Linked DNA regions of Homo sapiens: region 1 is linked to region 2. The links are contacts of gene promoters, found by promoter capture Hi-C in blood cells and fetal thymus (Javierre and others, 2016). All regions are on one chromosome and are shown on one strand. The core of a region is centred on a gene start or on the middle of the fragment in contact, and the rest is flanking DNA. Distances in the headings are between cores, read along the strand shown.

The links. The method cuts DNA at HindIII sites, captures the fragments that hold promoters and counts their contacts. A CHiCAGO score of 5 or more calls a contact.
Region 1: a fragment that was not itself captured here is called in contact with the fragment with the promoter of NAA16 in region 2 in 2 of 17 cell types (erythroblasts and megakaryocytes); the score reaches 6.5 in erythroblasts.

The regions. Positions count from the first base shown.
Region 1 is chr13:41,066,235-41,073,430 of GRCh38, reverse strand. WBP4 (WW domain binding protein 4) reads right to left here. Exons shown (of 10, transcript NM_007187.5): 5 at 4,694-4,870; 6 at 1,858-1,904; 7 at 574-649. Among named protein-coding and RNA genes, the nearest start is that of WBP4, 8.3 kb to the right of the region's middle. The HindIII fragment of the contact is 2,147 bases long and covers 1,205-3,351 here.
Region 2 is chr13:41,306,998-41,313,954 of GRCh38, reverse strand. NAA16 (N-alpha-acetyltransferase 16, NatA auxiliary subunit) reads right to left here and starts at 2,688. Exons shown (of 20, transcript NM_024561.5): 1 at 2,373-2,688. The coding sequence starts at 2,426. It also overlaps a transcript of MTRF1 not described here. The HindIII fragment of the contact is 1,668 bases long and covers 1,392-3,059 here.

The DNA of each region.
Region 1 (7,196 bases), core at 1,029-3,528, 240 kb after region 2:
AGATTCTCCTGTCTCAGCCTCCCAAGTAGCTTGGATTACAGGCATGTGCCACCACACCCGGCTAATTTGTTTGTATTTAACAGAGACAGGGTTTCACCATGTTGGTCAGGTTGGTCGCTTAACTCCTGACCTCAGGTGATCCACCTGTCTTGGCCTCCCAAACTGCTGGGATTACAGGCATGTGCCACTGTGCCCGGCCACAGTTTTATTTTTAAAAAGGAAAAGGCAAGTTGAGCCAGATGATCTCTAAGCTACCTTCCAAGGTAATGACTATATTTCTAAAATAATTATAAAAATAGTAATGTCAGAGAAAGCTAAAATGATTCTATTTTTAAGTTTGTGAATGCAATATCAACTGAGAATAACATTGGTGAACAGCACAACATAATACGAATATAAATCTTTTTGCTTTTCCACTGTATTGTTTTTAAATTACAAAAAATAATTCATGTTTACTACACAAATATGTTTATTGTATACTAAAATTTCCAAGTTCAGATGATTAATCAGCAGGCCAATAAGCAGTTCCAGGTACAATTTTAAACAGTTAAGATAATCAAAGGTAATACTTACCTCCTGTTTCTGTATTATAGTAATAGGTAAAACCATCTTCACTTAAACCTTCTACCCAAACGGTCTTCACTGCTGTCTAATAGGAGGAAAAAAACCCAGCATAAACTAAGGATAACCATGATTTTCTATTGAATAACTCAGACAGTCAGCCACCCTTGCCTCTCCTCCTGACACCTGGTGATATCATCTCGATCTGCATCCCCACCCAAATCTCATGTAGACTTGTAATCCTCCAAGTTGGAGATGGGGCCTTGTGGGAGGTGACTGCATCACAGGGGTGGTTTCTCATGGTTTCAACACCATCCACCTTTGGTGCTGTTGTTGAAATAGTGAGCAAGCTACCCTGAGATCTGGTCATTGAAAAGTGTGTGGCACCTCCCTTTGCTCCTGGTCTGGCCATGTAAGATGTGACTGTTTTCCCTTGGCCTTCTGCTATGATTGTAAGTTTCCTGAAGCCTCTCCAGAAGCTCATGCCACCATGCTTCCTGTACAGCCTGCATAACTGTGAGTCAATTAAACCTCTTTTCTTGATAAATTACCTAGTTTCAGAAGTATTTCTTTATAGCAATGCAAGAACTGACTAATACACCTGGGTATTAGGGGTGGTAGTACTAATCATGGCCAGGAAGCTTGGTTTTTGCTAATAAAGAACCAACTTTCAAGCAGTGGATGTCTCACCTTTGAAAGCCAGGAACAATTCCTTCCAAATGGACAGGAACATGTGAATGGCAACTGACGGCAAACCAACTAATATTTGCCCTGAATGCAGTTTTTGGATAGATATCAGTACTTTTTTTTTTTTTTTTTTTTTTGAGACGGAGTCTTACTTTGTTATCCAGGCTGGAGTGCGGTGGTGCAATCTCGGCTCACTGTTAACCTCTGCCGCCCCAGGTCCCAGTGATTCCCCTGACTCAGCCTCCTGAGTAGCTGGGATTACAGGCAACTGCGACTGCGCCTGGCTAATTTTTTTGTAGTTTTTAGGAGAGATAGGGTTTCACCATCTTGGCCAGGCTGGTCTTTAACTCCTGACCTTGTGATCCACATGCCTCAGCCTCCCAAAGTGCTGGGATTACAGGCATGAGCCACTGCACCCAGCCAGATATCACTATTTCATCTCCATCCAGCCTTCTAACAAAAGCATTATGGGAAAAAAAAGGACACAGTTTGGGGGTGGAGGGAGTGGAGTATTTGTAAATAAAGTTGCTTAGCAAAACTCTACAAAAACCTAAGAAACGAATCACTGTAAAGAATAAAACAAAAACACTATTAATATGCTTCAATTACCTTTTTTAAGTCTCCTTGAAATCCTTCAGGTTTCTCCCACTGAGATGCTTAAAGCAAAATATATTGCATTTATAAAATCTTTTTGCTTTAAAAAAATACTTTCCAAAAAATTTGGACAAAATTTACAGTCATTATGTACAAAACACTACAGGTCTACAATTTAAAACATATTTGAAAAATAAAACAGAACATACATCCCAGTACTGTGCAGACAATATATGTGAATGCTACGTAACCAAGAAGAAAGGACAGAACGAGGGATTAGAAGTTACTGGAACTTCCACAGGAATTTTAGAGCCAGGCAGGGCTTCTCATAAAGGTTTCACAGAATTCAGGTCTGATAAGTTTCAAAGGCCTTTTGATATCTTGGGGCAAGGGAGAGTGAGAGATAAACTGAATAAGAACTCAGAAGAGGAACAACTAGTATGCAGAAATTAAAAACATGTATCATGGAGAGGAAGAGTATATAAAGTAGGATGCTGAAAAAGAGAGGCAAGCAATAAGCATTGGAAGGGAGAAATGAAATAACAGTTTATAAGTAAATTTGAGAAAGACTTCTAATTGCTAGTACATAATCATTTATGATATCTTCATTGCTAAACTACAATATGCATGTCACTTAAAGCTCAGTGCAAACTCTAACGGATTAATATTTCTACATAGTCCAAAGGTAATTATGATCCTAATGATAATAGTCATTACAGTAAGATTGTTAGCCCAAGGATTTCTTCATGATTAACTCTCTGATCTTATTTCCTACCTTCCTAGCATTCTTAACCTTCTTTTGCTGGCTTTTCTTCTATCCATTCCTTTAATATATGTAACACTCACCTTCTTTACTTCTTGCTCTATTCTCTCTGCTTGCGATCTCATATACTCCTAAAGGCTAACATATTATCTACATCCCCAGACTCAATTTTGCTCAGCTCCACACTGTAACCATCAATTAGCTACCAAAAGCTGTCATATGAATATTCTGTAGGTACCTCATATTCAACGTATCTAATTCATTATTGTCCCCATTAAACTTATTTTCAGTTCCTTATCTCGTATCTAAGTAAATGGCACCATCATTCTCTCAGCCCTCCATAAGATGGCTCCAATCTACCTTCCAGTCTAACTCTACTAAGACGTCTTCAAAGAACTGCATGTTTTACCTCGACCACTATTTCCCAATACTTTCAAACCTTTTTTGGGGTTCATATTGTTCTGTGTGGATTCTGTACCTCTTAATTATCTACTGAAGTCTTCTTTAATCAAAACACAGAGTGTCTACACTGTGCTAGGCACTATGTTAGGCGCCAGGAATACAATGGTGAGTAAGGCATCATTCCTGATGTCCCTATCTTAATTTAGAGATCAGCTCAAAAGTAATTCCTATGGTAATCTCTCAAAGCTACATAATCACAATGAATTCAACATTATTATGAGTTCCCATATAATCTTAATTACACTTCTATTATAGCACTTTAAAATTCCTCCTTTTATCAAGCTTATTTATTTGTCGCTAAATTTTATGACTCTGGAGAGTAAGATGCTACATAAATGTAGAATAAATGTATTAATTTATTCCAAAATGTATACGGAGTAAAAACCCCAAATACATTTAGTTTTTAGGAAAAACAAAAAAAGATGTTTTTGATATTGTTACTGTAAAACGACACTGTGTATTTTTTTTTTCTTTTTTTTTTTTTTGAGATGGACTTTCGCTCTTGTTGCCCAGGCAGGAGTGAAATGGCGCGATCTGGGCTCACTGCAAACTCCATCTCCTGGGTTCAATTGATTCTCCTGCCTCAGCCTCCCAGGTAGCTGGGATTACAGGCATGAGCCACCTCGCTTGGCTACTTTTTTTTTTTTTTTTTTTTTTTGAGGCAGAGTCTCGCTCTGTCGCCCAGGCTGGAGTACAGTGGCCCAATCTACGCTCACCGCAAGCTCCGCTTCCTGGGTTCAGTGGCCCAATCTCGGCTCACTGCAAGCTCCGCCTCCTGGGTTCACGCCATTCTCCTGCCTCAGCCTCCCAAGTAGCTGGGACTACAGGTGCCCACCATCATGCCTGGCTAATTTTTTGTTTTTTCAGTAGAGACGGGGTTTCACCATGTTAGCTAGGATGGTTTTGATCTCCTGACCTTGTGATCTGCCCATCTCAGCCTCCCAAAGTGCTGGGATTACAGGTGTGAGCCACCGCGCCTAGCCTAATTTTGTATTTTTAGTACAGATGGGGTTTCACCATGTTGGTCAGGCTGGTCTTGAACTCCTGACCTCAAGTGATCTACCCTCCTCGGCCCCTCAAAAGTGCTAGGATTACAGGCATGAGCCACTGCATCTGGCCATGGCACTGTGTATTTTTCTGTTGGGTATCAGTTTCCAGTAAAATACACAATGTCATTTTTCAGTAACAATATCAAATCAATCAAGGCAGCTACAGAAAAAAGAAATCAGTTACTGGCTCCCAGAAGAAAATCTCTACTGTAGAATATTTTATTTCAAGTACCCCTACAATTTGTGAAGTGGATTTGAAATTCCTTATTTCTATGCAAAATTCTTTATTTCCATGTAGTTTATACTTACAGAAGTTTCTATTGAGAAAATATAAAGCTATAGTTTATTTGTAAGAAAGTCATTATCAAAGGCTTTGACTAAGTATGACACTTAGTCACTATGAGAAGGGTACCTTTTTAAAGGGCACACAGTTTTCTTACCTTTGGGGCAAAAATGAAAAACCGGTCTTTCACTATTTAAAGTGCTCCAACATTAGATAAAAATCCTAACATAAAATAAATTGTTCTATTCTACTAGTGACACTGTTCTTTACCAGTTTTATGCCTAAATGACTTACCTCCTGAGATAAGATCATAATAGTAATGGTAACCCTCAGAGGTTATGCCTTCTACCCATCTGCCCTTTGAAGGATCTTTTTTTCTTTTCTTCTTTTCTTTCTTTTCTTTCTGTTGATTTGATGTCGAGGTAGGTGGGATAGTGCTGGTTACTGGTGTTATGCTTGGCTCCAAAATTTCTAAAGAGATGAGAGAAGGGTAAAGCAGCTATAGTAACTACTATTTTTTATGGTTGCTGGCATAAAACATTAATGTTATTCCAATCAAAAACCTGATAAGGTTCTTTTGAGAACTTAACACATTATTATAAAGTTCATTCGGAAAAATAAACATGTAAGGGAAGGAAAACTGTAATAAAAAGAAAAAGGAGAATTTAGTTCTACCAGGTGTTAAAACTTATTCTAAAACTATGGGTTAAAAAAACAGCCAGCAGTGTGGAACTGACATAGAAATAGGCAAGCATATAATTGAAACAAAATAGTCCAGATACAGAGCCAACTTCAGGTTGGCTGGTATTTCATATCAGAGGATAAAAGACAGATCATTAAAAAAAGAGGTTTTCAAATTACCTACTGGGTACAACGTTCACTATTTGGGCAATGGGTATACTAAAAGTCCAGATTCCATCACTATGCAATATATGCATATGAGAAATCTGCACTTGTACCCCCTACATCTATATATATATTAAAAAAAGGAAATAAAGAAAGCATGCTTAAAAAGAAAGTTTTTAGATTAACTGATTAATTATTTGGGAAAAAAGTAAAGCTGTTCCCCACTACCTGCTCCCTTCCCCCCTTTTTATTAAATACTAGGTCAAAGATAGTTACAAAAAGAACACAAAGTAAAATAATGTTAAATTTGACTACATAAAAATTAAGATATTCTGTATGACAAAAATAAAAAGAAAAAACATATATAAGACAAATGAAAAAATATTTACAATAAATATGGCAAAGGGTTAATATTCCTAACAAAGATCCTTTACAAATCAAACATTCTAATAGAAAAATGGACAACAATTACAAAGACAATTCAGATAATTAACATTTACTTTTTTTTCTCTTATGTTGTCCAGGCTGGAGTGCAGTGGTGCAATCATAGCCCACATTAGTAGCCTTGAACTTCTCAGCTCAAGCAATCCTCCCACTTTAGCATCCCAAGTAGCTGGGACTACAGGTGCGCACCACCAAGCCCAGTTAATTTTTTATTTTTATATTGTAGTAGAGGTGGGGTCTCACCATCTTGCTAGGTTGGTCTTGAACTCCTGGGCTCAAACAATCCTCCCACTCCGGCCTCCTAAACTGCTGGGATTACAGGCATGAGCCACGGCACCTGGCCAATTAACATTTACTTTTGCTAATATTCAAAGAAATGTTTTGTTGTTGTTTTGCAGAAGATCAATAAGTAGTGAAAAGAATGACCAAATCCAGTATTAGTTTGATAGATCAGGTATTTACATTGCTTTGAAAAAATGGGTAGTTTTGGTGGGGGACAGTGGCTCACGCTTGTAATCCCAGCACTTTGGGAAGCCCAGGCAGGTGGATTGCTTGAGGCCAGGAGTTCCAGATCAGCCTGGGCAACATGGCAAGACCCCGTCTCTACCAAAAAATCGCTGGGACTGGTGACGAGCTGAGGTGGGAGGATCACTGGAGCCCGGGAGGTCGAGGCTACAGTGAGCCATGATTTTGCCACTGCACTCCAACCAGGTGACAGAGCGAGACCTGTCTTCAAAAAAAGAGAAAAATAGTTTTTATGGCTTTACTTTCCAAAGGATTGGCTAGTTACTCCTAAAACGGGTTAATAAACTTATTTTTGTTCTAATGAAAATGTACATCAGTCCATTTCTGGAGACAATGTGGTATTAGCTATCAATATAAAATATATTCACACTTTTATACTGTAACTTCCAGAAACTGAACCTACAGAGAAAAATAAGTGTAAAAAGATACATGCATAAAGATGCTTAATGCCGCACTCTTTACGACAGTGAAAAATGCTAAGCAACCTAAATGTTAACCAGGAAAAGATTAAATAAATTATAGTACAGAGACAAAATAACAGTGGCTACCATTTATTCACCATTTGTTATGTGTGGTCACGTAATAAGCAATTTATACCATAATGTTACTTAGTTTTAATAAAAATCAAAAGTCATAACTAGCAAGAGGAAATTCTGCTTGACTCCAAAGTCTGCTCCTACCATATAAAAATGATACATCTCCCTAATTAAAAGAAAAGATACATTTGATATATCACTGAGGGAAAAAATAAAACAACCGGCAAATAGACCGCAGCACAAAATATGTAATTTAAAAAAAGATCTAAAGAAGAGGTCTGCAAAAAATCTTAACAGTTAGTGAGTTTTTAAAAACTCTTTTCTTTGTACTGCATTGTTGTATGTTTGAATATGTATCCTATTTGGAAAAACAAGGCTATGGTAATATTTAATAGGAAAAATCCATTTAAATATAAAATGGTAAAATTTATTTGCTCAAAGGGCAG
Region 2 (6,957 bases), core at 1,439-3,938:
AATCTGGGAGGCAGAGGTTGCAGTGAGATCTTGCCACTGCACTCCAGCCTGGGCGACAAAGCGATACACTCTCGCAAAAAAAAAAAAAAGACAAATCTACATTCACTCAGGAACCATTATATACTAAGCAGAAATGATAGATTCTAGTCTCAACTTTGCTACTAACCAGACAGAGAACCTTAGCCACTTGGTCATTTACCATCTTTAGGTTTGTCTCTTTCTAAAAGAGGGCATGGAATACCTCCAAAATTCAACAAACTGTAATGCTAATTAATATCCAGTCTGGGGAATAAGACATGCAGATACAAGCCACGTGGAACACGTAAAAAACCAGCTGGTCAGTTTGTGTGGATGTGTTTGAATTTTTTCAATAGAAAAAATTTTACTGTTGGTGGCAAAGCACTTTAATCCACTAAACTTTAAAGATAATTTTATTACAGAGACTTCTGTTTGCTATGGAATTTGTTGTAGCCAAATTTTACCCACATTTATTGCAATTGTGAAATGATAAAATCATTCGTTTATGCAGAATCCTCCTAAATTCACGCAACCTTGTCAGAAACATTACATACCTAGATTTAAAAATGTTTAGCTTGGCTGAGCACAGTAGCTCACATCTGTAATCCCAGCAATTTGGGAGGCTGAGGTGGGAAGATCGCTTCAAGCCAGGAATTCGACAGTAGCCTGGCCAACAAACCGAGACTTCCATCTCAAAATAATTGATTTTTTTTTAGTGGTTACCATTTCCCAATTTATTTGGGGATAAACCCTACCTTTTTTGTAATTTAAGAATAATAATGTAACTTTTTCCTTATGACACTGATCCATGATTTGAACTACAAAAAACTCGTATAAAGAGAAAAGAAGTGCTGTCATCTTTAAAGTATGATGCCAAATGTCCTGAAATCCAACTAGCGATTTATAAATGATATTATCATTAATGTTTCAGATTCCCAGGGCAAAAAAAAATTAAAAATAAAAATAAATAAATTACTTCTCCAATTCCATGCTGTGTAAAATAAAAGGGCATGAGAAGTAAAATAAAAAAATACAAAGCCCAATGAAGCAACCTGCCACGTGCTTTAATTATTCGTATTTTTAATGTTCTCACATTTGTATCTTATTATTGGTTCAAAACTAAGCACCACATAATATTTAAAATTTTTATCCCATCTACTATGTATCCTAATCTGAAGACTAAGTGTGAAGTTTCTATCGTCTTGAAACAGAACAGCTACTATGAATTATCTGCCGCTGTTCATACTTAAAATTACTCTAAAATTAGTATTTTATTTATAGTAAAGTTAAGCAACAACTAACAGCCATATAGCCAACCCAGCTTTCAATAAATTCACCTTTAAACCTAAATGCATGTTTAGCAAATAAAAGCTTTTTTTCAGGTGAAAAGATAAACTAGAAAAGACAGTTACCTACTAACAATATTAGTTTAAAACCTAGGGTAGCCAGAGGATACTGAGGAAAGCAAAGGAATGCTGCCTCTTCTCCTTGGAAGAACAGAACCTGGAAAGCTACCAGGGACGCTGGCACACAGCCCACAGAAAACTGCCCACCCGGCTCCGCAGCGGTCATCACTACGGGGCCATTATTCAGGCTTCTGCTCCGCGATAAAGTAAAAATGCTCCCCTCAAATGCAAAACCAGCCAGTCCACGCGGCTTTAATTACTCAAGCAAGGCCTGTGCGACTAAAAAGCAAACAGCTGTTTTGAAGTTGGTGACAACTCAGAAACGCACTTCAAGTCAAATATTCACTTCCAAAGAGGTAAATAAGGTACATTACAAACAGGCAAACTTTTTCCCAAAGGGAGGTGGTGCCAGGCCTGGCTTCCTAAAGTTGCCGGTTTTATTTCCTCGTAACCAGGAAAAATTCCACCATCGCATCGATCCCGCTTTAATAGGTATGCGGGTGTGCTGTGCAATCTAACTAAACGCAAAGCAGAGAATGCAGAACGCAAAACACCTAGCCGAGGAGAGACTGGCAAAATAAACCACCGGGGGAGGATCCCTGAGGGGCTGCTGCGAGCCCGGCGCGGCAGAGAGCACGGCAGCCACTACCGGCCGAGGCGGCTGTGCCCGGGCACTGCGGAGAGCGGCGTGAAGTTTCTGGAAAGAGCGCGGCGGGGGTGAGGCGAGCCGCAGAAGACCGCGGAAAGGAAGCGCACGGAGGAGCGGCTCGGCAGCCCCCGTGGGCCGGCCGGAGCGGGAAAGTGGGGTCCCGCGACCTCCGAGGTAAACAAAGAGCGGTGGGCAGCGGAGGCCAAGCCTGGCCCGCGCCGGCCGCCGCCAGACCGCTTGCCCTTAAGGCCCGAGGACCCGGGGACCGGGGGGCGGCAGCGCGGCCTACGGCCACTCACCAAGATGCGTTTGAAGAGGTTGCTCTCCTTGGGCGGCAGCAGCACGTTCGGCATCGTGGCCGGCAGGGAGGCTAGGTGGCCGGCAGGGAGGCTAGGTGCCCGGGCGCTCCGCTTCGCGGGGGTGGGCACCGGGACGAACCGCTGCTGAGAGTCGGGCTGCGGGCGATGGATTAGTTCATTGGTCTACAGTTGCAATTGGGCAGCCTGGCTGTTCGGCACGGGTGGCAATGGAGAAGGAAGGCGGTCTGAGCAGGACACGCTTCCCCTGGGCTCCGCTTTTTGGCCAGCGGCGGCGGCGGCGGTTCCCGCGCACTGCAAGATGGCAGCCAGGGTCCGCCTCCCGAGCCGGATCCTGTGCGCATGCGCGGAGCGCCCTTTGGCGAGGGGCTGCGGGTGACTACGGGGGCGTAGCGGGGACCAACCGCGTGGATTTGCCTTGTGCTGCGGCTCTCCTCGCCGCAATCTCGGCACCCCCTGGGGCTCAGGCGAGCTGTCACCAAAACCTTGGAGTCCCATGGGGTGGTGAGTCACCACCCTCATTCACCATTGCTCCTATGCATCAGAACGCCTCATAAGACTCCTACTTATTGTCTGCTTCTCCTTGCAATAAAGTAATAAATAAAAACGAGAATTTTCTTTTAAGTAGAAAAGAGAAGACACTGACTTGTATTGCACTCTTGATAAGCTTGTGGCGCAAGATAATGTTAGTTATGACTCTGAAGAGTCAGAGTTTTTTGCATTTCTCCCCATTTAGGAATTTAAGTGTCCGATGCAAAGTAGACTTTTGATGAAAGATGAACTTGTTTTCTTTCCTTTTCCTCCTTGATTCAGACTCTAAGTAGAAGCCTTCTCTTTCCAGGGCAAACCAAACAAACATTTACAATCTTTGTTTTTGTTTGGTTGGTTGGTTTTGAGATGGAGTATCGCTCTTGTCGCCCAGGCTGCAGTGCAGTGGCGCTATCTGGGCTCACTGCAACCTCCGCCTCCTGAGTTCAAAGGATTCTCCTGCCTCAGCCTCCCGAGTGGCTGGGATTACAGGCATGCGCCACCACACCCGGCTAATTTTGTATTTTTAGTAGAGACAGGCTTTCACCATGTTGGCCAGGATGGTCTTGATCTCTTGACCTCGTGATCCGCCCCCGCGTCAACCTCCGAAAGTGCTGGGATTACAGGCGTGAGCCACCACACCTGGCCGGAATTACGGTTTTATAAGGCCACTGGTCTTCTGAGTCTACCTACCCTTTCTCTTCAGATGGTTCCCCTTCCTGAAAGCCATATAATAATGGGAGAAACAGGCTTCAAATTCAGGATCTTCCAACTCTGGGATACTCTCTACAACAAATAAAAGGCAGCATATTGATGGTAATGTGTGAGTCTAGAAAGATACAACAGTGGCAAGAATAAACCATACATTCAGTGTAGGGTTAGTAGTAAGGTGTGTGTAAACATTAGGTACATAAGTTTATTTATACATGTGCTGAATCTTAATGGGTGCATATTTCTGAGACTATAAAGTAATTGATGAGTAACTGCATTTAGTCGGCTGTAATCAGAACTGGGCTGCCCTTTTTTATTTTCCTTTTTTTGAGACGATGTTTTGTTCTTGTTGCCGAGGCTGGAATGCAATGGCGCTATCTCAGCTCCCTGTAACCTCCGCCTCCCAGGTTCAAGCGATTCTCCTGCCTCAGCCTCCCAAGTAGCAGGGATGACAGGCATGCACCACCACACCTGGCTAATTTAGTATTTTTAGTAGAGACGGGGTTTCTCCATGTTGGTCAGGCTGGTCTCAAACTCCCGACCTCAGGTGATCTGCCCACCTCGGCCTTCCAAAGTGCTGGGATTACAGGTGTGAGCCACAGTGCCTGCCTATTTGATTTTCCTTCTTTCTAGCCTAAGTTGGTTGGACATGAAAGAATCATAGGAGTCTTTTTTTTTCTTTCAATCTCCTACGTTTCACACATGATTTTAAAGCATCATAGGAGTCCTTTAAAATAGGGAAAGTACTGTCATTAAAATTGGGGGTCCACAGCAATCCCATTGCTGGGTATATACCCAAAAGAATATAAATTGTTCTACCGTAAAGACACATGCACAGCCAGGTGCAGTGACTCACGCCTGTAATCCCAGCACTTTGGGCGGCTGAGGCAGGCGGATCACCCTGAGCTCAGGAGTTGGAGACCAGCCGGGGCAACATGGCAAACACACACACACACACACACACACACACACACACACACACACTAGCTGGGCATAGTGGCGAGTGCCTGTAGTCCCAGCTACTTGGGATGCTGAGGTGCGAGGATCAATTGAGCCTGGGAGACAGGTTGCAGTGAGCCAAGATCATGCCACTGCACTCCAGCCTGGGCAACAAACTGCCTCAAAAAAAAAAAGGACACATGCACGTGTATGTTCATCGCAGCACTATTCACAATAAAAAGACATGGAAGTAACCTAGATGCCCATCGGTGGACTGGATAAAGAAAATGTGGTACACCATGGAATACTACACAGCCACAAAAAAGAATGAGACCATGTCCTTTGCAGCAACACAGGTAGAGCTGGAGGCCATTATCCAAAATGAATTAATGCAGGAACAGAAAATCAAATACCACATGTTTTCACTTACAGGTGGAATTATAAACACTGAGTACCCATGGACACAAATAAGGGAACAGTAGACACTGAGGCCTACTTGAGGGTGGAGAGTAGGAGGAGGGTGAAGATTAAAAAACTACCTATAGGGTATTATGCTGATTACCTGGGTGACAAGACTGTCTGTACACCAAACCCCCACAACATGCAATTTACCTGTGTAATAAACCTGAACATTTACCCCTTGAGTCTAAAATAAAAAATGGAAAGAAAAAAATAAAAGTGGGGGTTCAAGGGCCTATGTGTACTCTGCAGAGCTCCCAAGCTGCCCAAGCTGTTAGGAAGTAGGCAAGTATAGATGCTTTAGGAGCTTGCCTTAGTCGCACCTGTACTAGTGGCAGTCCCCCACCCGGAGAACTGAGCAAGCACACAGAAGTGCCTCCTCTCAGCACCCTCATACTCAACCACTGCCATAATTGCTAGCCACAGTTTGCTTACCACGGCATTACTAATTCCTGAAAACCTTTGGCTCCCAATTTATCTACATTGTCATTTATCTACATCATCAGAAGTGAAGGGTTACTCACGAAAAGAGCCAAACCTTCAGTGCGTCAGTCAAGCCCTCACTTGACCCTCATAGGACATGGACTTTTCTAGACCTATTTCAAAATGACAAATTAGATTTTTAAAAGAAATATACAAGAGAAGGGAAGAAAAGCATAGTACCAACTGTAAATATTTTGAAGACAAGGAACGATTATCTTTTATGAAAGTTTCCTGTGGGCCTCTTCCAGCCTTATTTACTACAAATCATTAACTATCTTCACTCTCTGTGGTAGCAGCTAAATCATCACCCTCATTCACCATTGCTCTCCCCAACCCCTAAATCAGCAGCCCAGGAAGGTTCTTCACGTGCACTCTGCAGCCTCCGACCCACTGCCAACTTCCACTTCCCAGGACACACAGTTCCGTGCCAGCATCTCCCAGGGAAGCGCAGTCACGCAAAGAAAATCTGCAATCCCAAATACTAGAAAGCAGCACTAGTTTGCTACTAGTTATAAACTATAGTTATATATAGTTATAAATACTCATATTTAATATCTTCTTCATCTGTCTTTCACACACCATACACACATACCTTTTGTATTAGTCTGTTCTCACATTGCTATAAAAAATTACCTGAGACTGGGTAATTTATAAAGAAAAGAAGTTTAATTGGCTCACAGTTCCACAGGCTATACAGGAAGCATGGCTGGGGAGGCCTCAGGAAACTTACAATCATGGTGGAAGGCAAACGGGAAGCAGGCACATCCTACATGGCTGGAGCAGGAGGAATAGAGTGAAAGAGGAGGTGCTACACACTTTTTTTTTTTTTGAGATGGAGCCTCATCTGCCACCCAGGCTGGAGTGCACTGGCATGATCTCAGTCACTGCAACCTCCTGGGTTCAAGCAATCCTCCTGCCTCAGCCTCCTGAGTAGCTGGGACCACAGGCATGCACCGCCATGCCCAGCTAATTTTTGTATTTTTAGTAGAGATGGGGTTTCACCATGTTGGCCAGGCTGGTTTTGAACTCTTGACCTTGTGATCCACCCGCCTCAGCCTCCCAAAGTGCTGGGATTACAGGCATGAGCCACAATGCCCAGCGGTGCTACACACTTTTAAACAACTAGATCGTGAGAACTCACTCACTATCATGAGAACAGCAAGGGGAAAATCTGTCCCCATGATCCAGTCACCTCCTACCAGGCCCCTCCTCCAACACTGGGGGTTACGATTCAAGATGAGATTGGGGTGGGGGGGGCACAAATCCAAACCATATCACCTTGGTTGTCTACACTAGTGTGGGGGTGAGGGGAGAGGGAGGGAATAGAAAAGAACACCAATCACGGTGCTGGTAGTTGTCATCCTGAACCTTATGTGTATAAAAGATGTAATGTATGCACAATCAGAAAGCCTAGATTAACCAGTAACTATAATCTTATTACTGACTT